2 separate regions of the Homo sapiens genome follow, and region 1 is linked to region 2. The links are contacts of gene promoters, found by promoter capture Hi-C in human tissues and cell types (Jung and others, 2019). All regions are on one chromosome and are shown on one strand. The core of a region is centred on a gene start or on the middle of the fragment in contact, and the rest is flanking DNA. Distances in the headings are between cores, read along the strand shown.

Region 1 (6,540 bases), core at 341-2,840, 480 kb after region 2:
CTGACCTCAGGTGAACCACCTGCCTCAGCCTCCCAAAGTGCTCGGATTACAGGCATGAGCCACTGCGCCCGGCCTGTCATAACATCTTTAAGCCTCAGTTTTCTCAACTACAAAATGGAGCCAGTAATATCTACTTCTTGAGTTTAGTAAGATGTTACTAAAATACTAAAGACGGCCAGGCAAGGTGGCTCATGCCTGTAATACCAGCACACTGGGAGGCCAAGTCAGGTAGATCACTTGAGTCCAGGAGTTCAAGACCAGCCTGGGCAACATGGTCAAACTCCATCTCTATAAAAAATACAAAAAAATGTAAGACAGGCGTGGTGGCATGCACCTGCAGTCCTGGCTACTTGGGAGGCTGAGGTGGGAGGATCACCTGAGCCCAGGAGGCTGAGGCTGCAGTGAGCCATGATCACACCATTGCACTCCAGCGTGGGTGCCAGAGTGAGACCTTATCACAAACAAAAAAGACCTAACACAACTCCTGACACAGGATGCAAAGAATAACAGCTGCAATTTCCACGATTTCCCTAGTCAGAGCTCTACCAATCACCAGCTGCCTGACTTCGAATGTGCTTAACTCTTCTAGATTCGGTTTCCTTGTATGTGTATTTAAATGTCAAAGGGTCCTGCTGACTCAGACTCCCTGTAATTCCAAGATGTCCTCTGTCCCCCTGCCCCTACCCAGTGTGCTGCTGGCTTCCCCCACGGGCTGGCACTCAGACCTGGCCTAGGCTCCTGTTAGCAGATTTTCACATCTTTGCCCACATCTACTATTTCCAAGACATCTGCACTGAGCTAAGTATGCCCGTCACACACTACTCAAGCACTTGCACAAGTGTGAGGCACACAAAACGAATGTTGGGCTGAAGAAAACTCAACTTGGAAAAGAAAGGGGAGACACAAGTTTGCCACAGAATTTTCTTAATGTTCTTAATAATCTACAGTTGGCAGAGCTAAGGGTTCCCCCAAGCAGTGGAAGTGTCTCTTTTGCATTCTTCCAACACTAGCATGCCCCAGCCCAGAATAAAGGCAGCACCACCTCTCTACCCATTGTCATCACATTTGCTTGGAAACTGGACCAAAGAGTAAAGCAAACTGAGGATAAGCTTAGTAAACCATGGGATGCTGAATGAATAAAACAGGAATGACACGCTATCCACTGCTTACGGAACACTTACTGTGCATCTCAGTATAACCATGTAGACATTTCACCCTCACAACAATCCTATGATGTAGGTAGCTATTTATGAAGAAGGAATTTTAATTATCCTCATTTTCAGATGAGGGAACTGAGGCAGAGAGAGGGGAGGTGACCCATCTTCAGAATCCTTCTTCACCACAACATTATACTGCCTATGATAGCAGGAGTAACAATGATGATAGCTTATATGTAGTGAGCACCTGAAATGCACTGGATGCTTTATCAATGGAATAGGAAAAAGGAAACTGTTCGTGTAAAGAAAAACAAAAAATAAAAACAGCTTGTAGATGTCCATATTTTAGGTGAGAAATTCATCTCAGAGGTACATGGTGTTTTAATGTATTCCAGTAGTTTTCAACCCTAGCTACACTTTAGAACAACCTGGGGACCTTCTAAGCAATAGCAATATCTAAAACCTACCCCAGACCTGGGTGTGGAACCCAGATATCAGTAAATTTTTTAAACTTTGCAGATCACTCTTGTGCCCAGCGTGTTGAGAACCACTGGTTTACTTCGTTCAAACACACTTAGGATATTTTTCAGTTGTGAACATGATTGGAAAGAAAAAAAATTGTCAACAAAGGAAAATAAATATTATACAATAATTTGGAGACTTCTTCAAAAAGAAAGAAGAGTCGGGGCCCATAGAATAGGCAGAAGATAATATTGGGAAAGAGCTCTAGTCCAGGTGGAGACACTGAAGATCCAGCAACAGGACAATAGGTGAGACCCTGACGGGGAAGACGGCATGGAAGGTTGCAAAAAGTGGATACAATACTTCACTACTTCTGTGGCCATGTCCTTTGCAATACGGCTTTGGAGCTTCTCCCATTCAAACATGGTGTCTATTTCCCCTTTCCTTGAATATGGGCTGACCCTGTGACTTGCTTTGACCAGCAGAATGCAGTGGAGTCCCAGTTCAAGCCCAGGTCTCAGAAATCTTGCATCACACTCACTCACCATGTCCACAAACAAGCCTAAGGCTCATCCGCTTCAAGTTGACAGACCACATGAACCAGAGCCCAAGTGTCCCAGCCAAGCCTCCAGACATGTGAGAGGGTCCCAGCAAGATTAGCAAATGGACCCACAGTTCATTGAAGACCCATATGAAAATCCAGCAGAAGCTGGAAGAGCCACCCAGCTGATCCTAAATTGCTAATACACAGGATTGTGATAACTGAGTTTGGGGATGATTTGAGGATGGTTATGTCGAATTAGCTAAATGGCCAGTGAGAAGGTGGAGAGACATAAGAGGGTAATGTCTAGCACTCAGTTTTAAGTTGTTATCTGATCTGGGCTGTAAACCCCCTTAAACCACCCCAAATAGGCCCAAATCTTCCATAAACACACAACCCTGGTGAATGATGCCTTTCCTAGTACATAGTGGAAGGGGAAGAAGAGGGAATACAGAAGGGAAGTCGTGGCAGGAAAGATGCAGAGGGGGCTTCACAGCTCCAAAGAGGCAGGAAACCAGGGTGGGAGGTTATCAGGAAGGAAAGCAAATCCCCCACAGAATTCCCAGAGCAGTGAGGGAGGGGAGATTGGACAAGCCAGAGCATGTGGAATGGGCCTTGGGTGAGTCTGTTGGGATATTAAAGAAAAGGGTGACACTGTCAGGCTGGAGGGCTAGAAACACACCTGCAGCAGACCCTTGCATCCAATCCTCATACCCACCATGACAGGGAGAGATTTATCACCCTCATTTTATAAGTGAGAAATCCAAGGATTGGAGAGGTTAAGTAACCTCCCCAGGATAACTCACCCGGGAAGTGGTGGAACCAGGTGTGCCTGACTCAAGCTCTCTGAGTAGATCTAATTAGCTGGTCAGAGTTCTGAATGTTTTTTCCCGGAACTCCAAACTCCCAGGCCCTCACTGCACTAGTGAATAGCGCGGAGGGGCGGGGGAGGGAATAACAGGAAAAATAAAGGAAGAAATTGTCAACAAAGAAAAATAAATGTTGTACATGAATGTGGAGACTTCCAAATTCTTATTTGAAGCGTGAATAAAGTGATCCCAAATCCTCAGATCCAGATTCTCCCATCCCAATCAGCCGCCTGAGACTTTTCACTCCAATGAGCACTCCTATTGGCTTCCTTAATTTCCCCTCCACTGTTTTCAGCAGAAGCCAGTGTGTCAGCTCCTGTGCTCACAACGTCCTCCCCCACCTGGCGGCACTGGTCCTCCATCAGGAGCTGAGAAGCAGCCTGGGGTCCCATGACTTACTGCAGTTACCCAATTCCTCCTCCCCAGAGTTTGTGCTCTGCTCCAAAGCGCAGAGAAGCCACACACACACACACGCTCACACACACGTACACACACACACCCTAACATACACACACCACACACATACACTCACCACACACTTCCACACACACCACACACTCGCACACACACATACATACAAACACTCATACACACACACTCATACAAACATACACACACACTCATACACACATACACACACACACAAGTGTTTGCTGCCCCTCACGTGGTACAGTAGGGAAAACCACGACACACTCGGGGTCACAGGGAGCATCTGAACCGAGAAGAGCCCGCCCCACAGCTCCTGCTTCCACCCCTCTCTGCGGACACAGAGTCAAAGTCATGTGGGTATCCTGGGAATTTCCCCCCTAAAAAAACTGTGGCCGGGCGAGGTGGCTCACGCCTGTAATCCCAACACTTTGGGAGGCTGAGGCGGGTGGATCACCTGAGGTCAGGAGTTCGAGACCAGCCTGACCAACATGGTGAAACCCCGTCTCTACTAAAATAAATAAATAAATAAAAATAAAAAAATTTTTAAAAATTGGACAGGCGTGATGGCACATGTCTGTCATCCCTATTTGGGATGGCTATTTGGGATGCTGAGGCAGGAGAACTGCTTGAACCCGGGAGGCGAAGGATATAGTGAGCCGAGATCGCGCCATTGCACTCCAGCCTGGGCGACAGAGCAAGACTCTGCGTCCAAAAAAATAAAAATAAAATAAAATAAAAAATTATGTTTCTTGAGGAGAAAAGACAAAAACAACTGCCGCTTGATTTCTCTTTCAAATTCCAAGAGAATAGGCTTCATTATACCGCCCCAGGTCGCCCGCAGGTGGGAAAGCGGACAGTTAAGCCCATTTCTTCCCCATCTGCTCGGGTTTTGTCTTGAGTATTTCGCACAGCTCCCCCATCCGCCCTCTGGCGCTTCAGAGTCTGGAGGAATCCCGAGCTGCGCCTCCCTCTCCCTGCATCCCTGGCAGAGAATTTCCCCTCCCAGCGCGGGGGAGCCCATCCCTGAGGACTCGGGCAGGTCAGATGAGAATTGGTAGAAAGTGAAGCGCCTTTTCCTCGCGCTGAGGGCAAAGCCAGTGTGCAGCCGCCTGTGGGTGAGGAGCTTTTATGACAATGAATCCCGTGTTTTATGGGAGGGCAGTGTGGAGACAGCGCGGGCCGAGTCCCTGGGTTCCGGGGCAAGACTGTGGGCGTCTCCCGCGGTGACTCAGAGATGCTGCCCTGCCTCACACCATCTCGCACCATCTCTGTGGAGGCCGTGACCTTCATTCACTGCCGTCTGTCACTGGGGGGTGACCTCGCAGTTGTCAGAGCCCCCTCTCCTGGGGCTCAGGACTGGGATCACCCCCGCAACCCGGCGCTTCCAGCTTCATCTCGGGGCGCTCTGTTTACTCCTCCCAGGCCTGTGCCTGAGCTGCCGGCTACCTTAAAAGGTCCCCTCGGAGCTTCTGCGCTTCCCACACACTTCCTATTGCTAATAGCTGAGGCTGAGCTTAGCACGGCTGCTTGCAGGTTAAAGACCAGGGCCTGCGGGGCCAGCTTTCAGCAGGCAATGAGGACCCCACTTACAGCCACACACCTACCTTAAGGGACCGCCTGGGTTCCCTCATATCCAGTGAACTGCCAGCCCTACTTCCAGCCCTCCAAGTCTGGAAAATCACAGGAGGGGAGGGAGAGGGGCCCAGAGGGTGTAGTTGGGAATCCCTGGCTTGGAATCCAGAAGGGCTGGAGTTAGAATCCTGTCCTTTCACTGAGTGTCCTGGGCTAAGTTATTGAACCTCTCCTAGCCTCTTGGTAGAAGGGAGACTCTACTGCTTGCCTCGCGGGGTTGTGATGAGATAAAGGGGCCACAGAGAGTAGGTGTGAGCTCCATCCACCCATGTGGCAGGTCAACTCCACCTATGTCTCTAGAAACTGAGGTCAGGGCTTCAGCCCAACCCCTTTCTGTTGGTGGAGAGTGAGGTGAGCTATTTCTATCCCCTTTAAGCCTCCACTCCCCATCTGTGGGTTGGGGGTGCACCTCGTGATTTTTCAGCCTTCCCACAATGGCAGGAGGTCACGCAGCAGCCCTGAGGTGAGGACACTGCGTGGCTCAGGTGAATATGGTACTCGCTGTACCCGCCAAGCGCTAGATAGAGGGGACCAAGGCAGGCTTCAGGAAGAAGAAAGGCCTTTTGGGCCTGAAGTTTGCAGGATCCCAGATGGCAGGCACTGGGATACGGGAGGGCCTCAACCCTTAGCAGTGCCTTTCCCACCAGTTCCCAGATCCCTTTTGGAAAGTGGCCCAGTGCTCCCGCCTCTCCGCTGGCACTTATTAGGGGCTTCTGAGTCCGTGGGACCTGGGATGGCTTTGGGGCCTTGAATGTCTGTGATGTTTCCCCATCAAGGCCCCAGCCTCGGGCCTTCAAGCCGAGAATCCACCAAGGTCTCTTTGCAGCAGCTCCCTGGGCTCCTCTGGGTTGCCCCCTTCCTCCAGGAGGGAATCTGCCAAAGGGACAGGCTCCTGCTCTCTGGGCAGGAACAGAGCCCATTGTCCTCTCCATCCCCTCTGGTGATTCCAGAGGCAGGCAGACCCAGGATCAAAGGCTGCTGACAAGCTGTGGGATTCTGGGCAAAGTACTCAACCTCTCTGAGCCTGTTTCCTCCCCTATAAAATGACAATCATAGGCGCCGTGAGATTTCCATGAGATGATACCTGTGTCAGGACCCAAAGTAAGTGATTGGCAAATGATAGCTGTTATTTCATTGCGTGGGGACATCTGGGAGGAGCGAGAAGAGTCACAGCCAGTTACAGAGCAGAGAACACTGGACTGAGAAGCAGATCTGAATTCAAGCCCAGTTCTGCTACTTAATAGCCGTGTGTCGTTAGACAAGTCCCTTGACCTCCAACCAATGGGAAGAACAACGCGTCTCTCAGCACAGTTGTGACAATGCCTGTGAAAGCACACGGTGTCCAAGGGCTGCCAAAGTCAGGCATTGTTTCACAGACTCAGAATGTGACAGCGGCAGGAGGCCTTGCACACATCTTCACAAGAGCATGTAGCATGCCTGATGTAATGTC
Region 2 (7,039 bases), core at 2,957-5,456:
ACACACACACACACACACACGCCGGGCGCGGTGGCTCACGCCTGTAATCCTAGCACTTTGGGAGGCCGAGGCGGGCAGATCACGAAGTCAGAAGATTGACACCATCCTGGCTAATACGGTGAAACCCCGTCTCTACTAAAAACACAAAAAATTAGCCGGGCGAGGTGGCGGGCTCCTGTAGTCCCAGCTACTCCGGAGGCTGAAGCAGGATAATGGCGTGAACCCGGGAGGCGGAGCTTGCAGTGAGCGGAGATCCCGCCTCCCGCCACTGTACTCCAGCCTGGGCGACAGAGCGAGACTCCGTCTCAAAAAAAAAAAAAAAGAAAAAAGAAAAGAAAAATGAAAACATAATCTGAGAAAATTAGAGGAACAGTCCAGGAAGTCTAGTATCTGAAAAATAGGGTGTCCAGAAGAAAAAAAAAACGGAGAGAAAGTCTTCAAAGGAATAATTAGTAGAAGAGATCATTTCCCAGTGTTAAAGGACATGAGTTTCTTTGCTGAATTGCAAAGTTACAACAGGTGTTCCACACAAAAGATGACAATGAAACATGCCCAGACACATCACTGTAAAATTAAGAAAAATGAGAAGGTGGGGCACAGAGAGGAACATCCTGAAGACTTCAAGAAAGTAAAAAACAAGTTACACACAAAAGATTAACAAATCAAAAGGGCACTAAGTGTCTGGAGATTGGGAATGAACACAGGGTTCACCACACAAAGTGCCCCAGATGTAAGATCTGAACCTCACTAATTCCCCTTTCTCACCACAACCTCCACTTCTGTTTTTCACCTTCTTTGTAATATTTTAATTCATTAATCTCATCTTGAACTTACTTGCCTTTAGCTTTTCTTTATTCCTGCCCAGAAAAGCACATCCAGAGATTCAAAGGCAACAATAAAAAGCAGGGCTTAAGAGTGTGGGCTCTGCATTATCCAAAGCAAACTTGTCACAGAGAAAACCTCAAAATCAGGGTTCAGCCTGAGTGGCCATGTGGGTTCTCAGCTTCATGCAGGAAGGAATTCAAGAGCAATCTGACAGAATAAAGTGAAAGCAAGTTTGTTAAGAAAGTAAAGGAATAAAGAGTGGCTACTTCATAGGCAGAGCAATGGCAAGGACTGCTAGACTGAGTATATTTATGGTTATTCCTTGATCATATACTAAACAAGGGGTGGATTATTCATGAGTTTTCCAGGAAAAAGGTGGGGAATTCCTGGAACGGAGCGTCCTCCCTTGTTAGACCATGTAGGGTAACTTCTCTAAGTGGGCATGGCAAGGGGCAAACTGTCAAGGTGCTGGTGGGAGTGTCTTTTAGCATGTTAATCCATTGTAATTAGCATATAATGAGCAGTGAGGATGGCCAGAGGTCACTTTGGTCACCATCTTGGTTTTAGCAGGTTTCAGTCCTCTTCTTTACCTATCCTGTTTTATCAGCCAGGTCTTTATGATCTTATCCTGTGAAATCAGTCCTGCCAACCTCCTATCTCAAACTAACACAGGAAAGAAATAAAATACTGTGTGTTCTCACTTATTAGTTGGAGCTAACATTGTGTACAGGTGGACACAAAGAAGGGAACAATAGATACTGGGTACTACTTGAGGGTGGAGGGTGAAAGGAGAGTATGGATCAAAAAACTACCTATTGGGTTCTATGCTTATCACATGGGTAAGGAAATAATCTGATCCCCAAACCCCCGAGACACTCAATTTACCTATATAACAAACCTGCACATGTACCTCTGAACCTAAATTAAAGTTTAAAACAACAACAACAACAACAAAAACCCGAAGAAAAGTATGGGCTCTGGTGTCAAATTACCAGGGTTAGAACCATGAATTAAGTGTGACCTTAGAAAGTCACTTATACTTTCTAAGCCTTGGTTATTTCATCTGTAAATTAAAGGTGATGATAACAGTCCCAATTTAGGATCAAATGAGATATTGCAATGCCGGACACATTAAAAGTGTCTCCATGGGACTAGCCCAAACTGAGCCTACTCTGTTGATAACAAAATGTCGTGTTACCTTTTAGATGTAACAGAGCCAAAAACTGAAAGTCATGTAGCCCAGTCATGTGCAATAGAAAAAGCCTGGACCTCTAACAACACCCAAAACCAGTGAATCCTTTCCTTGGAACCAAGACCGGGACATGACTGGAACCTGAACTTGGAACTCTTTCAAAAGTGTTGGGTCCATTTGCCTGGAGGATCAGGCCTAAAATCGGCCTCTACGTACCTTTTTCTAAATGGTCAAATTTCAAGTCCTCCATTCTGCCTGCCAAGACACATTCCTAAATTCTTCCCTTGGCTTTCCAAGCCCATAAGTTTACCCCAGACTCTAAATCAGGGAAACAGATTTGAATGCACTCCTATCTCCTTGCTGACCAGTTGTGCAAATAAAGACTTTTTTTCCTCAAAAGCTTGTGCCACATAGTATTGGCTTCTGTGCATGCATTGGATAGAGAGCTCATTTGCTTGATAACAAAAACAAGCTATTAATACCTATTATTTCTATTATTATCCATACCTCTAGCTCCCACCATGTTAAATATTCCTATAACTTTCATTTCTACCTTAAAATTTTCTTTATCCAATAAGTTTTCGCTTAGAAGCTATCTACCACAGGTATCTTCCTTTAATATCACAACCGTCTACCCAGCCACCCAAATCAGAAACCTGGAAGTTATCCTTGATTCTGTTTGTTTACTTCCTATGTCCAAATAATAAAATTCTTATAATTCTTCTTCCTGAATAGCTCCTTTATTCATCCTCTTCTGCCTCTCCCTTCCTCCATGGCTCCAATTTAGACTCTAGATTTCTACCTTAGCCTCGCAAGTGGTCTCTAACTCTAAACGTTTCCATATTTTTGTCCAGGATTTTTTTTTTTTTTTATATAGGGTCTCTGACATCCAGGCTGGAGTGCAGTGGCACGATCATAGCTTATTGCAGCCTTTGGGCTCATTGACCTCCTGGGCTTAAGTGGTTCTCCCGCCTCAGCCTTCCAAGCAACCGGGACCATAGGCATGTGCCACCCACCCAGCTAATTAAAATAAATTTTATTTGTAGAGGTGGAGTCTCACTATGTTGCCCAGGCTGGTCTTGAATTCCTGGGCTCAGACAATCCTTCCACTGTGGCCTCCCAAAATGTTAGGATTAGAGGTGTGAGCCACAGCACCAGGCTTAGATTCCTTTATTCACAAAAGGTGTAAAGGTGATCTCATTTTATATACATGTCAACTAAAGAAAAAAATCAGGCTTTTAAAGACTCAAAGTTAGTTTTATTCGGAGTCTTACTGAGGAATGCAACCCTGGAGAGTCTTTCAAAGAGTTTATGTTATACTGGTCCAAAGCAGCTGTTCTGCCCCCAGTTTCTACATCAAGGGATGGAGTTCTGCATGTGCTCAAAAGTTACATTAAACGTGCTCAGAAGTTACGTTGGAGCAAAATCTCATCAAAGTTTTGTTTGGAGACTACATCTGGTTATAGATTACAGAGGCATAATCATTAATCCTGTCACACGTTATCTTACGTACAGGAAGAGGCAAGAGCTAGGATCGCTGACTGTATCTTTTTAAAAAATGAAGTGATTCAAGCAACAGATGTGAAAACTTGTGCTCTATCCTACTTATTGTCTTCAGGGCATTCTTCTGGAGGACTGCGTTCAGTCACTGAGTCAGGGGCTTTGTGAAATTTCGCTGGCAACAGAATGAGCAAACATGGTTTCTTCCGTTTCGTACTTTGTCTCGCATACATGATTTCCTATGCTCAAACCTGGCAGGAAAGTTTTTTTATTTTTTCAGTCTTTGAGCTATAGTAATCCTTCACTGGGTTTTAAGTCAGTGGGGTTTTTTGACATCAAATTGTTAAACTACAAGTCATGTTTCCTTTAACGTGAAAATTACCTAGTCTGAATAAATTCTGATGTAACTATAACTCGACAAATTATGATATTTTCAACTTACGATGGGTTTATTGCGGGGAGGGGGCAGCCCTATCGTAAGTAGAGGAACTCTATACACGTTTGAAAATATCGCTGGGCTCCAGGGTTAACCGGTCTCTAACCCATTCTTTACTGGACCTGCCAACTTCGCGCAGGGTTGGTAACCTAGCAACCAAGCAACACGAGCAGTGACTTCCGGTACCCGGACTTGGGTTGTCCAATCAGCTCAGCGAAGCCGCCGCAGAGGCTGATGGGGGGCTGGAGGCTGTGAGGCTTCCAGCGTCGGTACCATGGCGACGCGCGGTGGGGCTGGGGTGGCAATGGCGGTTTGGTCCCTCTTATCCGCCCGGGCCGTGACCGCGTTCCTTCTGTTGTTCCTCCCTCGCTTCTTACAGGCCCAGACCTTCTCTTTCCCTTTCCAGCAGCCGGAGAAGTGCGACAACAACCAGTACTTTGATATCTCCGCCCTCTCGTGTGTTCCTTGTGGAGCTAACCAGAGGCAAGATGCCCGAGGTAAGACGGTTTGCGGTGGGCCCTGGCAAAAGTAACACTCCCGCCTTGGTCGGCCCCTAGTCCCCGTAAATGGAGTTTCACCATGTTGATCAGGCTAGTCTCGAACTTCTGACCTCAGGTGATCCACCCGCCTCCGCCTCCCAAAGTGCTGGGATTACAGGCGTGAGCCACCGCGCCTGGCCCGAATACATGTATATTGTTTAGTGACGTAGAAATGTAAAATTTCCAGCAGCAGTTAAGTAGTTTAATAGTTTAGTTATACTTGCACTTAAAATGGTAGCAGCATAATACCAGCTGTGTGCCAGTGTAAGACCTCTACGTATAATAACTAATTTTGTACTCATACTAACCCTGTGAGGTAGGTACCAATTTTTTTTCTCCATTTTATTGTAGAGGAAGCCAAGGCAGAGAGTTTAGTAACTTGTTCAAGGTCATGCAACTGAGTAGGATTACTACGATTGGAACTCAAGAAGTGTATTTCTGGATTTGAACCCAGGCAGTACTGCCTCCAGAATCCTGCTGTTAATCACTATACTGCTTCTCAAGATCTTCAGACTTATTAAAAGTTTCACTATCTGGGAACTTTATTTTTATTTATCAAGGATAAAATTGGCTTTTTTTTTTTTTTTTTTTTTTTTAGGAACTTCATGTGTATGTCTACCAGGATTTCAGATGATCTCTAATAATGGAGGACCTGCTATTATTTGTAAAAAGTGCCCAGAAAACATGGTGCGCATAATTTATTTTAAAATAACTTACCTGTAAAAAGTAGTAAGTTAAATATCTTTATTTTTCAAAATATAATTTAATGTTTAATGTTTCCCCACAGACTTTAAAATTACTATGCTAATTTTATTTTTACTAGAGTAAGTTTTGGGAGATCAGCGAAATTTCATGCAAACTTGGAGAAAACAGAAATGTATTTCTTTTAAAATCTGAAATCCAAAAACCACAAAGCTGTAAAAATTTAAGTTTTTGTTTTTACTCGTAGAATAACTCGGTTATGAAGAAAATTAGATGAATAAGGCATATATAGAGCAGTCTGGGATGTGTGCAATTTGGGATGTGTATATTCTTTTGACTGATGCAAGTGGAGTTGTCTTAGACCTACCATGTCAACAGTTTATATGATTATTGATGTTCATAATGATATCTAAGGTGTAATTATTTCATGAAATACCAATTGCATTAATAGATTAAATAATGTCTGTTTCTGTTTTGTTAGTAATTTCATTGTATCGTAATTTAAAAAAAATTAGTAAATAGTTACTATATATAATTCTCAACATAAATATATTTTTCAATCATGTTGGATAATTAAAAGTCTGTGTAACAGTTGTGACATTTACAGTAATGTTTCTTCTCATTGTCATATAAAAAATATTAATTCTGGGAATTTAATGTGAAGTTATCAATTGTCCCAATTTATAGCTATCTGTATTACTTGTAAGTCTGATTACCACTTTTTATATTACCATTTATTTTATATCTTTATAATAGATTATAATAGATTACCATTTATTTTATATCTTTGCAAATATTGATCCTAGCTGAATTACCCATGATAAAAAGCTGCTAATAAAAAGTGGTCTCGCAGCAGATTTCTTTTTCAGTGACATTGTTTAAGTTATTGTAATTTTTAAATTGTCCTGTATAGGCCAGGCACAGTGGCTCATGCCTGTAATCCCAGCAGTTTGGGAGGCTGAGCCTGGTGGATCATGAGCTCAGGAGTTTGAGACCAGCCTGGCCAATATGGTGAAACCCCATCTCTACTAAAAATACAAAAATGAGCTGGCTGTGGTGGCGCGTGCCTGTAGTCCCAGCTGCTTGGGAGGCTGAGGCAAGAGAATCGCTTGAACTCAGGAGGCAGAGGTTGCAGTAAGCCAAGATTGCACCATTGCACTCCAGCCTGGGTGACAGAGCGAGACTCTGTCTCAAAAAAATAAATAAAATATAAATAAATAAATAAATAAATAAATAAATAAATAAATAAATTGTCCTGTATAAATGTATTGCCAAATATAGGAGTATTTCTTGATAAATTCAGTCTTTTCAACCAAAATTTAAAATAATTTGTGGCATTATTTTTGTTCTTTATAAACTTTGGTTACATCTGTGTTTGTAATTATTGTGTTTTTTGCCCCAGGCTTTTCCTAAACCATATGATATAATAAGCCCAATTTTGAATGCTGTCATACTTTATCAAAAACCTTTACTAGGCCGGGCGCGGTGGCTCACGCCTGTAATCCCAGCACTTTGGGAGGCTGAGGCAGGTGGATCACGAGGTCAAGAGATCAAGACCATCCTGGCAAATGTGGTGAAACCCCATCTCTACTAAAAATACAAAAATTAGCTGGACGTGGTGGCACGTGCCTGTAGTCCCAGCTACTCGGGAGGCTGAGGCAGGAGAATTGTTTGAACCTGGGAGGCAGAGCTTGCAGTGAGCCGAGATTGTGCCACTGCACTCCAGCCTGGCAACAGAGCAAAGACTCTGTCTCAAAAAAAAAAAAACCTTTACTAGTACAAGCCATAAATGGATAGAAGAAAATATTCTCATAAATCAATTTTAACAACTATGTGTATAATTTA

What was found. Contacts are between HindIII fragments. The study calls those that stand out against the background at their distance.
Region 1: a fragment that was not itself captured here is called in contact with the fragment with the promoter of TMEM67 in region 2 in 1 of the 25 tissues and cell types used here (bladder).

The regions. Positions count from the first base shown.
Region 1 is chr8:94,229,907-94,236,446 of GRCh38, forward strand. No RefSeq gene overlaps it. Among named protein-coding and RNA genes, the nearest start is that of CDH17, 25 kb to the left of the region's middle. RefSeq lists enhancers at 3,990-4,569, 4,479-4,528, 4,570-5,148, 4,579-4,918, 5,149-5,727 and 1 more. The HindIII fragment of the contact is 4,638 bases long and covers 1-3,909 here.
Region 2 is chr8:93,750,688-93,757,726 of GRCh38, forward strand. TMEM67 (transmembrane protein 67) reads left to right here and starts at 4,207. Exons shown (of 28, transcript NM_153704.6): 1 at 4,207-4,450; 2 at 5,091-5,179. The coding sequence starts at 4,228. The HindIII fragment of the contact is 11,912 bases long and covers 1-7,039 here.